Regions from separate parts of the Homo sapiens genome. Here all the other regions are linked to region 1. Evidence: promoter capture Hi-C in 16 types of primary human blood cells and fetal thymus (Javierre and others, 2016). All regions are on one chromosome and are shown on one strand. Each heading gives the region's core, a stretch centred on a gene start or on the middle of the fragment in contact. The rest is flanking DNA. Distances are from core to core; before and after follow the strand shown.

Region 1 (4,650 bases), core at 1,906-4,405:
ACTATTACTTCAAAATATTCATGAGAGGATAGCAGGAGAAAGGCATCATGATAACTTCCTCTCTCAGATATTGACATTGCACATATTTAGCACATAAATGCCTCTGAGAAGTTTTGGAGTAAGGACACCACTATATCTCAACATTTCCCAATTTTGCTTGACCCTGAAATCAATTATCTCCAATGATGTCTTGAATATGTTCTACTAATTATGTGATCTGGGGCAAGAAATCTAACCTCTTTGAGTCATCATTTCCCTATAAATAAAAAAGATCAAACTAGTTTATCAGTCTCATAAGATGACGGGCAGGAGCAATGATTTAGTATTTACCATATGCACTACTGGCTGTATGTTATTATCATTACTACACTAAGAGTAACAGTGACTTCAGGAATAGACGTTTCATTCTTCACGTGGGGAGTCAAAAACAAGAGAACAACCTAAACTGAAGGGAAGAAAAAGTTTAATATATTTCTTGTGAAGATTTTCCATTCTTAAAAGCACAACTAAATTTTATTAATCCTCACAGTAGTAAAACATTACACAAAGGCACTGCCATCTGCAGGTCATAAACATGGACTGCTTGCAATGATTATTTAAAATGAAGTTTCAAACCAATAAATCTTTTCTCATCAGACTACGAAAGTCTTTCCAAAAATTGTTTATTCTGGTTGGACGCGGTGGCTCATGCCTGTAATCCCAGCACTTTCGGAGGCAGAGGCGGGCAGATCACCTGAGGTTGGGAGTTCGAGACTAGCCTGACCAACATGGAGAAACCCCGTCTCCACTAAAAATATACAAAATTAGCCGGGCGTGGTGGCGCACGCCTGTAATCCCAGCTACTTAGGAGACTGAGGCAGGAGAATTGCTTGAACCCGGGGGCCAAGATCGCACCACTGCACTCCAGCCTGGGCAACAAGAGTGAAGCTCTGTCTCAGAAAAAACAAAAACAAAACCAAAACAAACAAGTTGTTTTTTCTTAGCTCTCAAGCACTGGTAGATGAGTTTCCATTTGCTGAAGTTCTGAAACGGACGCCGGGCTTAAATCAAATTCTCAGAAATGTGAAGAAAATGACCTTAGCCTTACGTAAATTCTACATTGTGATCATACCAAGGTAACCCCAAAGAAACATGTTTTTAACAGGGGGAGAGATACATACACACACACACATATATATACATATACATATATATATATTTTTTTACACAGCCTTTGAGGGGAGGGGAAGAAAACTTGAATAAGCCTGAACTGACTTATGGGACTTTCCTGTCAATGATTTAAATTAAATCTGCTCTTACATTCACATAAACAGATCTTATGAACACACTATTAACTTACAAGTAAGTTAATCTGTCAATGCCTCCTTTAAACTTGTGGTGTTCACAGGTATGCAACATTGAGCAAACTGAATCTAGAAAAACTCCTTCCAATGAGCCTTGCAATATGGATTCGCTGGGACATTCTACAAGGAAAATCAGTGTTTCTAAGTTTTAGGTTAAGAGAAGTGTCAGAGGTTTCAAAGGCAATCTGAAGAGTGACAGATGAGCTCAAAGAAAGGCAAAGAAATCACAATAAAGGAAGAAATGGATGTTAACAAATAGCCAAGTGATTTCTAATATCCACAATGCAAAGCATGGGCTTTACTGGTTGCAAAAAGTAGACACAAAGTTAGTTTTCACACCCAGACTGACTCATAGAGAAAACATTAAATTAAGAGTTGTCAAAACTCACAAAAGCTTCCCCAGCATTTGTAGAAACATCTTTTTATGAGCCAACAGGGGGCTACGACATCACAACGCTGTAAGAAAATTCAGGCACACCGGGTGCACCTGAGTGAACACAGTTCTTGCAGTTCCCTGGGACTAACACTTTTAAGTCAACAAAGAGAACAGTTTACAAGAAAGCTGTTACATTATCCCTGAAGAGCCCAGGGCATTCATAGAATCTGCTTTGCCTCAGGAAAAATTCTGTGCACAGAGTGCAAGCCAGAAGAACCACAATTAATCAGCTACTCCTCGGGCAGCGTTTCCCAAAGTGTGGAACGCAGAATAATTTCAGGAGGAACAAGGACGCACTGTTTATTTCAACAGACAGATATTTATTTTTTTTATAAGCATTAGAAAAATAACTGGCTTTCCAGTACCCGGTTTGTGATTGAAGTTGCCGCCTTAAATATATTTAAGGAGAAAAAAAGAGTCAGTTTGAATTTTTTAAAAAATGTAACATTTGGTAAATAGCAGTACAGATGGTCCACGGACATAAAGGTGCAACGCGAGACTGAAACGTGTGCAACGCCGTCCTAAGAGAAGCCCCTCGCCCGCTGGCGGGGAGCGGACAGTGCCCCGCGCCGGGAGCTTGGAAAGCCGGCCGGATCGGACGCTGGCGCTGAGCTACGTGGTAAACCCGGGAACAGTTCCTCTCCCCGTTCTCTGGGCCCGAGGTCCGCGCCTACAAAACGCGTGGGGTGTCACACCACAAGGAGACACCCCGAGAATGCGGTCAGGGGCCGCGAGACGGTGGCGGGGGACAGCGCTCAGTACACCGCTCGGCGCTGCACGCCTGGAGAACGCCCGGTGCCACGGGACGCCTTGGGCCCGGTTCGAATCCCGACTGCGCCACTGACTCGCTGAGGACCCGCGGGCGAGCGACTCCACCGTTTCGACAGGGGGTGCGGGATGTGCGGCTCAACCAGAGAAGCCTTGAGGACTCCTAGTGACCGACCGTTCGTGCACAGACAGGCGGCTGCGATGCGACGCCGCCGACCTGCGTCCACCACAGAGAACCGTAGGCCGCCTCGGCCGGCCGGGCCTGGGCCTGACGGGAGCCGGAGGCGGCCGCGCCCCGCACCGGGCATGCGCAGCACCGCGCGCACCCGGAGAGGAGCCGAGACCGTGGCCGCGCGTCGAGTGGGCCTTCCCGCCTCAGCCTCCCCGTCCGGCCAGGCCCCCCACAACGGCCTGCCCGTCAGCCCCACGCCTCGGCTGACGGCCAGCGCTTCCCGGCACTCACCGCTACCAGCGCGGCGGGCTCCCGGCCGCTCCTTCGCCTCAGGCCCGCCGCTGCCGCCTCCGCGTCGGCCCACCTGCCCGCCGTAGGACAAAGGCGCCACCAACCGACCGGCGCGGGCACGAGGCAATGGCGGCCGGGCGGAGAGTGGAGATGGGGGCAGAGGGCGCGCACGTAGCGGCAGGCGCGGCACTGTCGCAAGACCGCGCGTGTTTACGGCAGGGCTGAGTTGGGGCGTCGATCTCCTTGGCAATGAGGGCCCGGGAAGTGGCTCTCGGGCGGGAGTTGAGAACGCAGGGAGTTGCCTAGCAACAGCGTCCTAGGCTGAGGATGGGCCCCACGGTGGTCGCCTCAGCCCCCGCCCCAGAGTACTTTTTTTCTGTTTTCAGAGCACATTCCCTCCTCCCTAACTGTGGGAACAGAACATTCAAATCCCCAAATACCTTGATTTAGTCTTGCATAAAACTGAAAGCAAAAACCCCAAATCCCTATACACGTGTGTATTGGAGAATATATATAGTCCTGTAACCTCCGGACCACAAGGAACAAAGAGAGCAGAAAGGTGGAGAAAATGTTGTATTTAAATTTACATTTAAATAGGCTCTGTACTCTATTAGTTTCACTGACAAGCGGCAAAAGGTTTCTGGAGATATAGTCACAGGTTCTTCTTGAGTTATTTATTCTTGGAATATTCGTTCAACGTCAAAAATTTCCCGGAATGTAACTGTTGACCGTGAAGCCTGTAAAATGTTGTACTGTTCATTTCATGTATAGAATACATTTGTCACAGGGAATGGGATTTGCTCACACAATAGTAAATGCACTCTATTAATCACAGCCATAGCTATATTAATCAGGTACTCTTTTATTAGTGTTGGAAACGCCTCAGACTCCATGGGGTCTAGTTCTTCTCCTTGCGAATATTGCCTACTAAGAAAAAATGGTGCCTGCGGAATTTAAACACTACAAGAAGCCAGATTTCTTTGACATCTACCCCTATGCTCACTCCACTCATTTATTCACTGAATGTTTATTACATACCTACTATGTAGCCCTATACTTATTATATGCCTGCTTGTTAGGCGCTGTTATGAGCAAATGCAGACCCTTTTCTGCTATCTTTGAGATTACAGTCTGGTGAAAGCATTAGACGAATAATCACACTTGAGTGTGTAATTGCAAACTGAGATAAACGCTGTGATGGAAAGAAATAGGGATTCTCAATGGTTGTAACTAGAACTTTAGTTTACTCACAGGCAAAGTGGGTTATTCCAATTCCCACTTTATAAGACTGTATGAAATTAGAAATGAAGACATAAAGTCTGTCAAATAATGGATACCCAACAAATGTTCATTCTTATTCCTTTCCCTCCAATATAGATCCTAATACTATGAAAATTTAAGAAGAATCATATTAATTAGATGATTAAGATAACCAAGCTTAGGGAAAAATGTTGGTTTAGAGGTGAGTGGCAGTACCTCAAGTGGGTAGTGGACTTTAGCCAAAAGATGTATTCAGTGACTTGTGTATTAAGTGTTTAATGAGTGTTTTTTATGCACTTGATTTTGTGGAGAGTAGAGAGTAAGGTAGACAAAATCCTTGTGCTTAGGGAGCTCATGGCCTATTAGGGAATATGAGCAAT
Region 2 (4,787 bases), core at 1,234-3,733, 160 kb before region 1:
CTGGCCAGGCACAGTGCCTCACGCCTGTAATCCCACCACTTTGGGAGGCCGAGGCAGGCAGATTGCTTGAGGTCAGGAGTTCGAGGCCAGCCTGGTCAACACGGTGAAACCCCCATCTCTACTAAAAACACAAAAATTAGCTGGGCCTGGTGATGTGTGCCTTTAGTCACAGCTACTCCGGAGGCTGAGGCAGGAGAATCGCTTGAATCCTGGAGGCAGAGGTTACAGTGAGCCAAGATCACACCACTGCATTCCAGCCTGTGCGACAGAGGGAGATCCTGTCTCAAAAAATAAATAAATAAACGGGCTACCTGAAAAAGCCACCTAGACTTCAACCCAGAGTGGTCTGTTCATGGTCATCAAATATTTACAGAGGGTCAGGCACAGTACTGAGCATGGGGTTACAAGGGTGAATAAGCCCCAGGCCCCACCCTTAAGCAGCGCACAGCCTAGTGGATGAGGAAAATTGACAAACATTATGAGCTTAGACCATTGTGGTAGTACAAGAGAGGGAACCTGTCCTAGCCGGGGTAGAAGGAAGTTCAGGGAAGGCTGCCTGGTGGAGGCGACATCTAGGCTAAGACTCGAAGGCTGAATTAGGTCAAGAGGGGAAGAAGAGTAAGGGCAAACAGCATATGCAGAGACTCAGGAGCTGGACACGGTGGCTCATGCCTGAAATCCCAACACTTTGGGAGGCTGAAGCAGGAATATTCCTTGAGGCTAGGAGTTTGAGACCAGCCTGGGCAACATAGTGAGATCTTGTCTCTACAAAAAAAAAAAAAATTTAATGAGCCAGGTGTGGTGGTGGTGTGCTCCTGCAGTCCCAGCTACTTAGGGGGCTGAGGTAAGAGGATCACTTGAGCCTAGGAGGTCAAGGCTACAGTGAGCCTGGATACAAATGGAGACTCTGGCTCAAAAACGAACAAAACAAAGAAAGAAATAAACAAAAACACAAAGGATCAGGGTCATGAAAGAACCTGGCACATTTAGGGAAATTATGAAGTAGTTCATGGTAGCTGGGACTGGATCAAGAAGAGATGGTTTGAAGGTCCAGATCATGAATAAAATGAATGTGTGTAAAGTGCTTGACGTTGTGCATAGTAAATATTCTGCCATGGTAGCTCATTATAATTCTGGTTTTGTAGGCCAAATTAAGGGTTTGGGATTTTGTCCCGTAGTCAATGGGGAGACATTCAAGAGCTTTAAGCCCAGAGTGACTTGATGAGATTTGCTATATGGCCAGATCCCCGTGGCTCCTTGGTGGATTATGAACTAGAAGAGAAGCAAGGCTGGAGGATCAGAAGGCCACTTTGAAAATTAACAGGTATGGCCAAGCACAGTGGCTCACACCTGTAATCCTAGCACTTTAGGAAGCTGAGGTGGGAGAATTGCTTCAGCCCAGAAGTTAGAGATAGTCTTGGCAACATACTGACCCCATCTCTAGTTAAAAAAAAAAAGAGAGAGAGAGAGAGACTGGGCATGGTGGCTCACACCTATAATCTTAGCACTTTGGGAGGCAGAGGCAGGTGGATCGCCTGAGGTCAGGAGTTCAAGATCATCCTGGCCAACACGGTGAAACCCTGTCTCTACTAAAAATACAAAAATTAGCCAGGCGTGGTGGCGTGTGCCTGTAATCCCAGCTACCTGGGAGGCTGAGGCAGGAGAATTGCTGGAACTTGGGAGGCGGAGGCTGCAGTGAGCTGATATTGTGCCATGGCACTCCAGCCCATGTGACAGAGCCAGACTCAATAAACAAATAAATAAAGCCAGGCACGGTGGCTGATGCCTGTAATCCCAGCACTTTGGGAGGCCGAGGCGGGCAGATCACTTGAGGTCAGGAGTTCGAGACCAGCCTGGCCAACATGCAGAAACCCTGTCTCTACTGAAAATACAAAAATTAGCCAGGTGTTGTGGCGGGTGCCTGTAATCCCAGCTACTTGGGAGGCTGAGGCAGAAGAATCACTTGAACCCAGGAGGCAGAGGTTGCAGCAAGCTGAGATCGCGCTACTGCACTCCAGCCTGGGCGACAGAGCGAGACTCTGTCTAAAAAAATAAATAAAAATAAAAATAATTTTTAGAAAAGAAATTGAGAGGTATGGCAGGTGGGAGGCTTCACTTATATCCCTTAACAATAGAGTAGATAAACATACAGTGGAAAACAAAAAAACAGCAATGAAAATGAACTCACCACAGCTATATGAAACAACATAAAGGAGTTTTGCAAGTGTATTCTTGTGCAAAAGAAGGCAGACACAAAATAATACTGTATAATTCAATTTACATAAAGTTCAAGGAACAGACAAAACGAAACTACAGTGTTTAGGGACACATTCTCAGGTGGTACAACTCCAAAAGCAAGGAAGCGATTATCACAAAAGTAGTTGGAACACCAATTACCCTGCAGAGGTCTTCTGCTTGACTGTTCAGTACCATGGCATGGGTGATGCTAACCCAGGCTCACTTTTTGATAAATCATTAGGTTTTACATTTATGTTTTGTGCACTTTTCCATGTGTGCTATTCTTTTTTTTTTTTTTTTTCTTGAGACGGAGTCTCGCTCTGTTGCCCAGGCTGGAGTGCAGTGGTCTGATCTCGGCTCATCGAACCTCTGCCTCCCAGGTTCAAGCGATTCTCCTGCCTCAGCCTTCTGAGTAGCTGGGACTATAGGCATGCACCACCACACCCAGCTAATTTTTTTGTATTTTTAGTAGAGACGATGTTTCACTATGTTGGCCAGGCTGGTCTCAAACTCCTGACCTTGTGATCTACCCGCCTCGGCCTCCCAAAGTACTGGGATTACGGGCGTGAGCCACCATGCCCAGTCTATTTTGTATACATTTTTTTGAGACAGGGTCTTGCTCTGTTGCCCAGGCTGGAGTGCAGTGGCATGATCATAGCTCTCTGCAGTTTTGACCGCCTGGGCTCAAGTGATCCTCCCACCTCAGCCCCCTAAGTAGCTGGGACTACAGGTGTGTGCTTCCGCACCTGGCTAATTTTTGTGTTTTTTGTAGAGACGCAGGTTTCACCATGTTGCCCAGGCTGGTCTTAAACTCCTGGACTCAAGCAATCCACCCACCTCCACCTCCCAAAGTGCTAGAATTACAGGCATGAGCCACTGCGCCCAGCTATGTTTAAGACACGGTCTCTGTCGCCCAGGCTGGAGTGCAGCTAACTGCAGCTTCGACGTCCAGGGCTCAAGTGATCCTCCCACCTCAGACTCCCAAGTGGCTGGAATTACAGGCCCATGCCACCATGCCCGGCTAATTTTATTTAAAACATTTTTCAGAGACAGGGTCTTGCTACATTGCCCAGGCTGGTCTCTTAACTCCTGACCTCAAGGTATCCTCCCACTTTGGCCTCCCAAAGTGTTGGTGATTACAGGCATGAGCTACTGTGCCAGTCTATCATACACTATTTTTTTTTTTTTTTTGAGACGGAGTCTTGCTCTGTCACCAGGCTAGAGTGCAGTGGTGCGATCTTGGCTCACTGCAGCTTCTGCCTCCCAGGTTCAAGTGGTGTCCCTGCCTCAGCCTCCGGAGTAGCTGGAACTACAGGCGCGTGCCACCGTGCCCGGCTAATTTTTTGTATTTTAGTAGAGATGGGGTTTCACCATGTTGGTCAGGATGGACTCGATCTCCTGACCTCATGATCTGCCCGCTTAGGCCTCCTGGGATAAAGTGCTGGGATTACAGGTGTGAGCCACCACACCCAGCCCCATATGCTATTCTTAACAATAAAAAGGTTTTAAAAATTTGTCTTTGGGAGGCTGAGGTGGGTGGATCACCTGAGGTCAGGAGTTCGAGACCAGCCTGGCCAACGTGGTGAAATCCCGTCTATACTAAAAATACAAAAAAAAAAAAAAAAAAAAAAAAAAAAACTAGTCGGGCATGGTGGCGGGCACCTGTAATCTCAGCTACTCGGGAGGCTGAGGCAGAAGAATCACTTGAACCTGGGAGGCAGAGGTTGCAGTGAACCGAGATCGCGCCACTGCACGCTAGCCTGGGCGACAGAGCAAGACTCCTTTTCAAAAAACAAAACAAAATTGGGCTGTGTGTGGTGGCTCATGCCTGTAATCCCAGCACTTTGGAAGGCTGAAGCAGGAGGATTGCTTAAGGCAAGGAGTTCAAGGTTACAATGAGCTATGAGTGCACATCAGTCTGGGAGATAGACTGAGACTCTGCTTCTAAAAAAAAGGGGGGTAGGGGTGGGAAACGCCAGCTCTTAAGGTAGTCATTAGAATGGTGAGAAGAGGTTGGGTTTTGTTTTGTTTGAGACGGAGTTTTGCTCCTGTCACCTAGGCTAGAGTGCAATGGTGTGATTTCGGCTCATTGCAACCTCTTCCTCCCGGGTTCAAGCGATTCTCCTGCCTCAGCCTCCTGAGTAGCTGGAATTACAGGCGCTTGCCACCATGCCCAGCTAATTTTTGTATTTTTAGTACAGATGGGCTTTCACCCTGTTGGCCAGGCTGGTCTCAAACTGCTGACCTCAGGTGATCCACCCGCTTTGGCCTCCCAAAGTGCTGGGATTACAGGCGTGAGCCACCGCACCCAGCTGAGAAGAGGCTGGTTTTGACATGCGGAAAGTGAGCAAACGGAGAAGATGAGGCATGTATCAGGTGAAAAGCAGTGCTGAACACTGTGAGATAGAGAAACCTTTAAGATACTTAACTATCCAGGCCGGAGGCGGTGGCTCACGTCTGTAATCCCAGCACTTTGGGAAGCCGAGGTGGGCGGATCACCTGAGGTGGGAAGTTCGAGACCAGCCTGACCAACAGGGAGAAACCCCGTC
Region 3 (4,202 bases), core at 241-2,740, 220 kb after region 1:
AGCTGGCAACAGCCAAAGCCCTCAAATGAGCCGCTGCCTGTGCTGGGGGCACCTCGGCCAGCCCCAGAAACCTGGGGAGTGCTGGAATCAGCCCCACGGAAAAAGAAGCTGGCATGCGCAACCCTGGCGACGCCCGAAGGGTTTGGAGAGAAGAGGTTCCAAGGAGCGAGCACCTCGGAAGACCTGAGCAGCTTCAAACAGCAGCTTCTCTGCCCGCCACAAGGGGGTGCCCTGCACCTCGGGGAGACCTCGGGGGATCCTGGATCAGCCCTACCCTCTGCAGCCCCGCCTGGGACAGGGCCCGACGTTGCCAGAGAAGAGGCAGCGGGGAGGCGCGAGCGAGACGGGTCCACACTGTGCCCACCCAGGGCTGCCCGGCACCCCGCGCGCCCACGCAGTCCACTCTTCACAGTAAACGCCGCGGCCCCCGAGGGTTAGCCCTAAGTGGCGCTCTCTTTGGACGTTAGGCTGTCGGGGGCCCCGTCCTTCTTCCCCAGCGGGGACGGTGTCTCCGGAGTCGGGTCCTAAGGAAGAGAGCAGCGCTGGCTCTCGCTCACCGCCAGCCCGCCCGACGGCCATAGGGCAGGGGGGGTCGCGCCGGTGGGGCCGGCAGGGGTCCCTGTGGGCCGCCTCCCCGGCTCAGAGGGGACCAGAACCGTGCGTGTCGCCGCGGCTGGAGTCAGCCTCCGGGTGTCCCCGGACGCGGCACGACCTCGCACACACACACCGCGCGCACACGCTCGCGCCGTGCGGTATTTTCCCGGCCCCGGACCCCGCCTCTGGGAGGGGCCGGGGAGCCGAGCCCCGCTAGCAGGGTTGGGGGACCGGGAACGCCTGGGTCCCAGCCCTCGCGTCAGGGCTGTGCGCCACCTTCCCAGCCCCTTTTGGCGCGCCGGCTCGGCCCCTGGCGCTGCCACCCCTCGGCCCGCGGGGGTCCCGGAGGCTCCCGGGCGCGCGGCGGACGAGGTTGTGGGGACGGGTGGGAGCTGCGGGCTTCGGGCCGAGAGGCGGCTCGGCTCCGCGCCGGGGAAAGTTTGGACGTGGGAAACTCCCTCCCCGCCCTCCCGGCCGAGAGGAGGGGGCGCGCAGGGCCGGGCGCAGGCACCCCGGCTCCTCCTGCGGCTGGAGGCTCGCCCCCCGCGCCGCCTGCCCGGCCGCTCCCGCCGGCCAGGGGGCTCCCTCCCTGCCGGGCAGCCTCCCCTCGGCGGCGATCCGGCCGCTCCTCCCGCGGCACCCCGCGCTCTTACCTCGGGGAGCGGCCCGGGGCTCCCCCTAGTCCTGCCGCCTCGGGACGCTGCGTGGGGCGGGAGCCCCGGCGCGGGCAGCGGGCGAGTCCGGAGCCCCGCGGCCGCCCGCAGGAGCCGGAGGGAGAGCGGGAGCGAGAGGGGGAGCCGCGGCGGCGTGTGCGCGCGTGTGTGTGAGCGAGAGAGCGAGAGAGCGAGAGAGCGAGGGAGTGAGCGAGCGAGCGGGAGCGAGGGAGTGTGCGTGTCTGACTGGGGGGAAGTGTGCAAGGGACGGATCCCTTCCTTCCTCCCGCAGCCTCTGGTGGAGACTCGGAGAATGCAGGGCCCGCCGGGCAGGAGCCGCGCAGCGCCAAGCCGCAGGCGGCCGCCGGCCCGGACCCCCGCAGCCGGGGAACCCCAGCCCCCGCCCCCCGGATCGCGCCCCTCCTACACCAGGAGGGGACAGCCTTTCCCTCTCTCGGGCGGCCCAGTCCCAGGAAACCCCCCAGGGGACAGTGCCCCTCCCTCCTCCAACCCCAGATCCGCGCGAAGGGAGCGCCCCCAGGAGGGGGACCATCTACCTCCTCGCCTGGCAGCTCCCCAGGTGGCCGCAGTTTGAGACCAGAGCCTATTTCCCCACCTGATTTTACTGCGAATAGGGCTTCCCATTTCCGCCCCCTGACTACTGCGGGAGGCCGCCTTCAGAGGAGCAGGGGCGCAGGCCAGGGTAGGAGCAGGCTTCTCGAACAGTGGCCGCCCCGGCTTGCTGCCCAGAAAGGCACCTTGCACAGACCAGATCTGCCAGTTCAGAAACAGTCACTGTGCATTGAGGTGGACACCGACCAGGTGCCCAGGGCTGAGTCTCCAGGCAGGTGGGAGGTCGGGTGTCCCCGGGAGAGAAACTTGTGGGCTTTTCCTCTGGAGAGTCCCGCTGGACATCCTTGCAACCAACAAAGTAAGCAGGCAAAACAAGACACCTCCATCCTTAACTTGGTGCCACCTTGACCTGGAGAAGTCTCCCAATAAAATCTTCCCACTGCCCAGAAACTCCTTGCTGGTTGGGTTTTCCGTTCTTTTAAAAATCCGGCTGGTCTGCTCCCTGATGTTTTTTCCACCTGGCCCTGTTTCTTTCTCCTGGCTGCCTGGCTCTCCTTACTACTTCATCTCTCTGGGATGAGGCCTAATGGAGGAGACCCTCCCACCCCACTCCTGAGTTCCCAATATGAGGTCGTTGATGGTAGGATAGGACCAGTGACTCCCATAGACCCACCCTTTGTCTTGGGTTGTAGGTCCCCTTAGGAGTTGCCCGCCCCCCTATTCCCCATGGCTTCCAGATAGGTGAGTGAAGGATAACAGGAGACTGGACAGCTGCAGACCTCTGTCCCGCCAAGCTGCCAATGACCAGCCATTTAATCACCCACAAGCAGCTGCTGAAGTTCATGGCAAAGAGGGGGCAGGGCCCTCCAGGACCCCCAGCTCTACCTCGCCCCTATCCTTCTCTCCTCCTCGCCTCCTTCCCCAATTTCCATCTCCATCTCCACACCCTAGTCCGTCTTGCTGATGATTGGAATCACCTCTCCTGCTGGCTGCCCCTCTGGCCCCTCCTACTAAACTCCATCATTCATTTATTTATTTTGAGATGTATTCTCCACTGTGCCAGTCTGTTCCCTCCCCTACGTCCTTCTCTTGGTTTATTTCCCTTCATTGATCTCTTCCAGCCTTGCCTTTCTATCGCCTTCCTTTTCTCCATCTCTCTCTTCCCCTCTCCTCTCTATTCTTAGCCTCCACTCTTTCATGCTTTCAGAGACCAGAGGCCAGCCTTCCAGGTGCATCTCTTCACTTTTGGTTCTCTCCTCCCGCTCTGACTCACTTTTGCTGTTTGCTCCAGTTCCCATTCCTTCTTTGCCTCTTCCTCCAGGCTCTGGTGTGTGCTGTTCATCTCTGGAGTCAGACCTACTTAGTTGTCCACAGGTTGTTTTGGTCTGGGACACTGTTGCTGTCACATCTGCATGCACACAGTAGGTGCTCAATAAATGTTATTGAATGAACTGTTGTCACATCTTTCTCTTTTGCTCTGGTCTCTCTCTTCTCTCTCTTTTATTTTTATTTTTTTTTGAGATGGGGGTCTCACTATGTTGTCCAGGCTGGATTCCTGGACTCAGGTGATCATTCTGCCTCAGCCTCTCAAGTAACTGGGACACCAGGCATGTGCTGCTGCACCCAGCTCCCCATGACTCTTTATTAGACCCTCAGGTTTTCCTATCCCAATGTTTCCTATTTTCAGGCTCATTCTACCGTTATTTCCAATTCTTCCTTCCTTCAACAAACTTTCTCTGAGTGTCCACTCTGTTGTGAGCACTATGGCTAGGCTCTGAGAACACATTGAATGTTTATTGAGCACTTGCTGTGTGCCATAGTTCTGCTTTTAAGTCCTCACAATAATCAGATACTAGTATTAGCCCATTTTACAAATGAGGAAACTGAGACACGGTGTTGAAATAGCAAGATCATTCAGACGGCAAGTAGAGAGATCAGGTTGACGCATTGGGCCTGGGTCAGACCTCTCACTCTGGTCTGGGAGAAGGTAAGCTGGGACTCCTGCTGCAGTGTGGCAGGGGCAGCAAGAGGCAGTGTAGTGTGACAGAGGAAGAACTGGGCAGGCCTGGGCTCTGAGAGCAGTTCTGCCCCATGCAGACTGTGTGACACGTGGGCAAGCCACTTCCCCCAGCATTGATGTGAAGAGAAAATGAGATGATAGTAACAACAGTTAACATTTAGTGAACCTGTGCCATGTGTCAAGCCTTCTCCTAAATGTTTTACACAGATAATTTCCTTTTACTTTCAACAAATTTATAAATTCATAATGGGGAAACTGAGGCACAGTGCAACTATGAAACGTGCCCAAGGTCACACAATTAGTTTATGGCAGAGCTGGGATTCAAACCAAGGCAGGCTGGGGCCAAAGCCTGCACACTGAAC

What was found. Contacts are between HindIII fragments. The CHiCAGO score rates a contact against its expected background, and 5 or more counts as called.
Region 2: a contact is called between a fragment that was not itself captured here and the fragment with the promoter of NCOA5 in region 1, in 1 of 17 cell types (fetal thymus). The highest score is 5.3, in fetal thymus.
Region 3: the fragment with the promoter of CDH22 here is called in contact with the fragment with the promoter of NCOA5 in region 1 in 4 of 17 cell types (erythroblasts, endothelial precursors, neutrophils and 1 more); the score reaches 7.1 in erythroblasts.

The regions. Positions count from the first base shown.
Region 1 is chr20:46,086,807-46,091,456 of GRCh38, forward strand. NCOA5 (nuclear receptor coactivator 5) reads right to left here and starts at 3,156. Exons shown (of 8, transcript NM_020967.3): 1 at 3,011-3,156. RefSeq lists enhancers at 1,628-2,442, 2,380-2,589, 2,443-3,256, 3,270-3,319 and a silencer at 2,760-3,109. The HindIII fragment of the contact is 2,710 bases long and covers 1,736-4,445 here.
Region 2 is chr20:45,927,121-45,931,907 of GRCh38, forward strand. No RefSeq gene overlaps it. Among named protein-coding and RNA genes, the nearest start is that of PCIF1, 5.2 kb to the right of the region's middle. RefSeq lists an enhancer at 190-484. The HindIII fragment of the contact is 8,397 bases long and covers 1-4,787 here.
Region 3 is chr20:46,307,008-46,311,209 of GRCh38, forward strand. CDH22 (cadherin 22) reads right to left here and starts at 1,491. Exons shown (of 12, transcript NM_021248.3): 1 at 1,248-1,491. The HindIII fragment of the contact is 22,305 bases long and covers 1-4,202 here.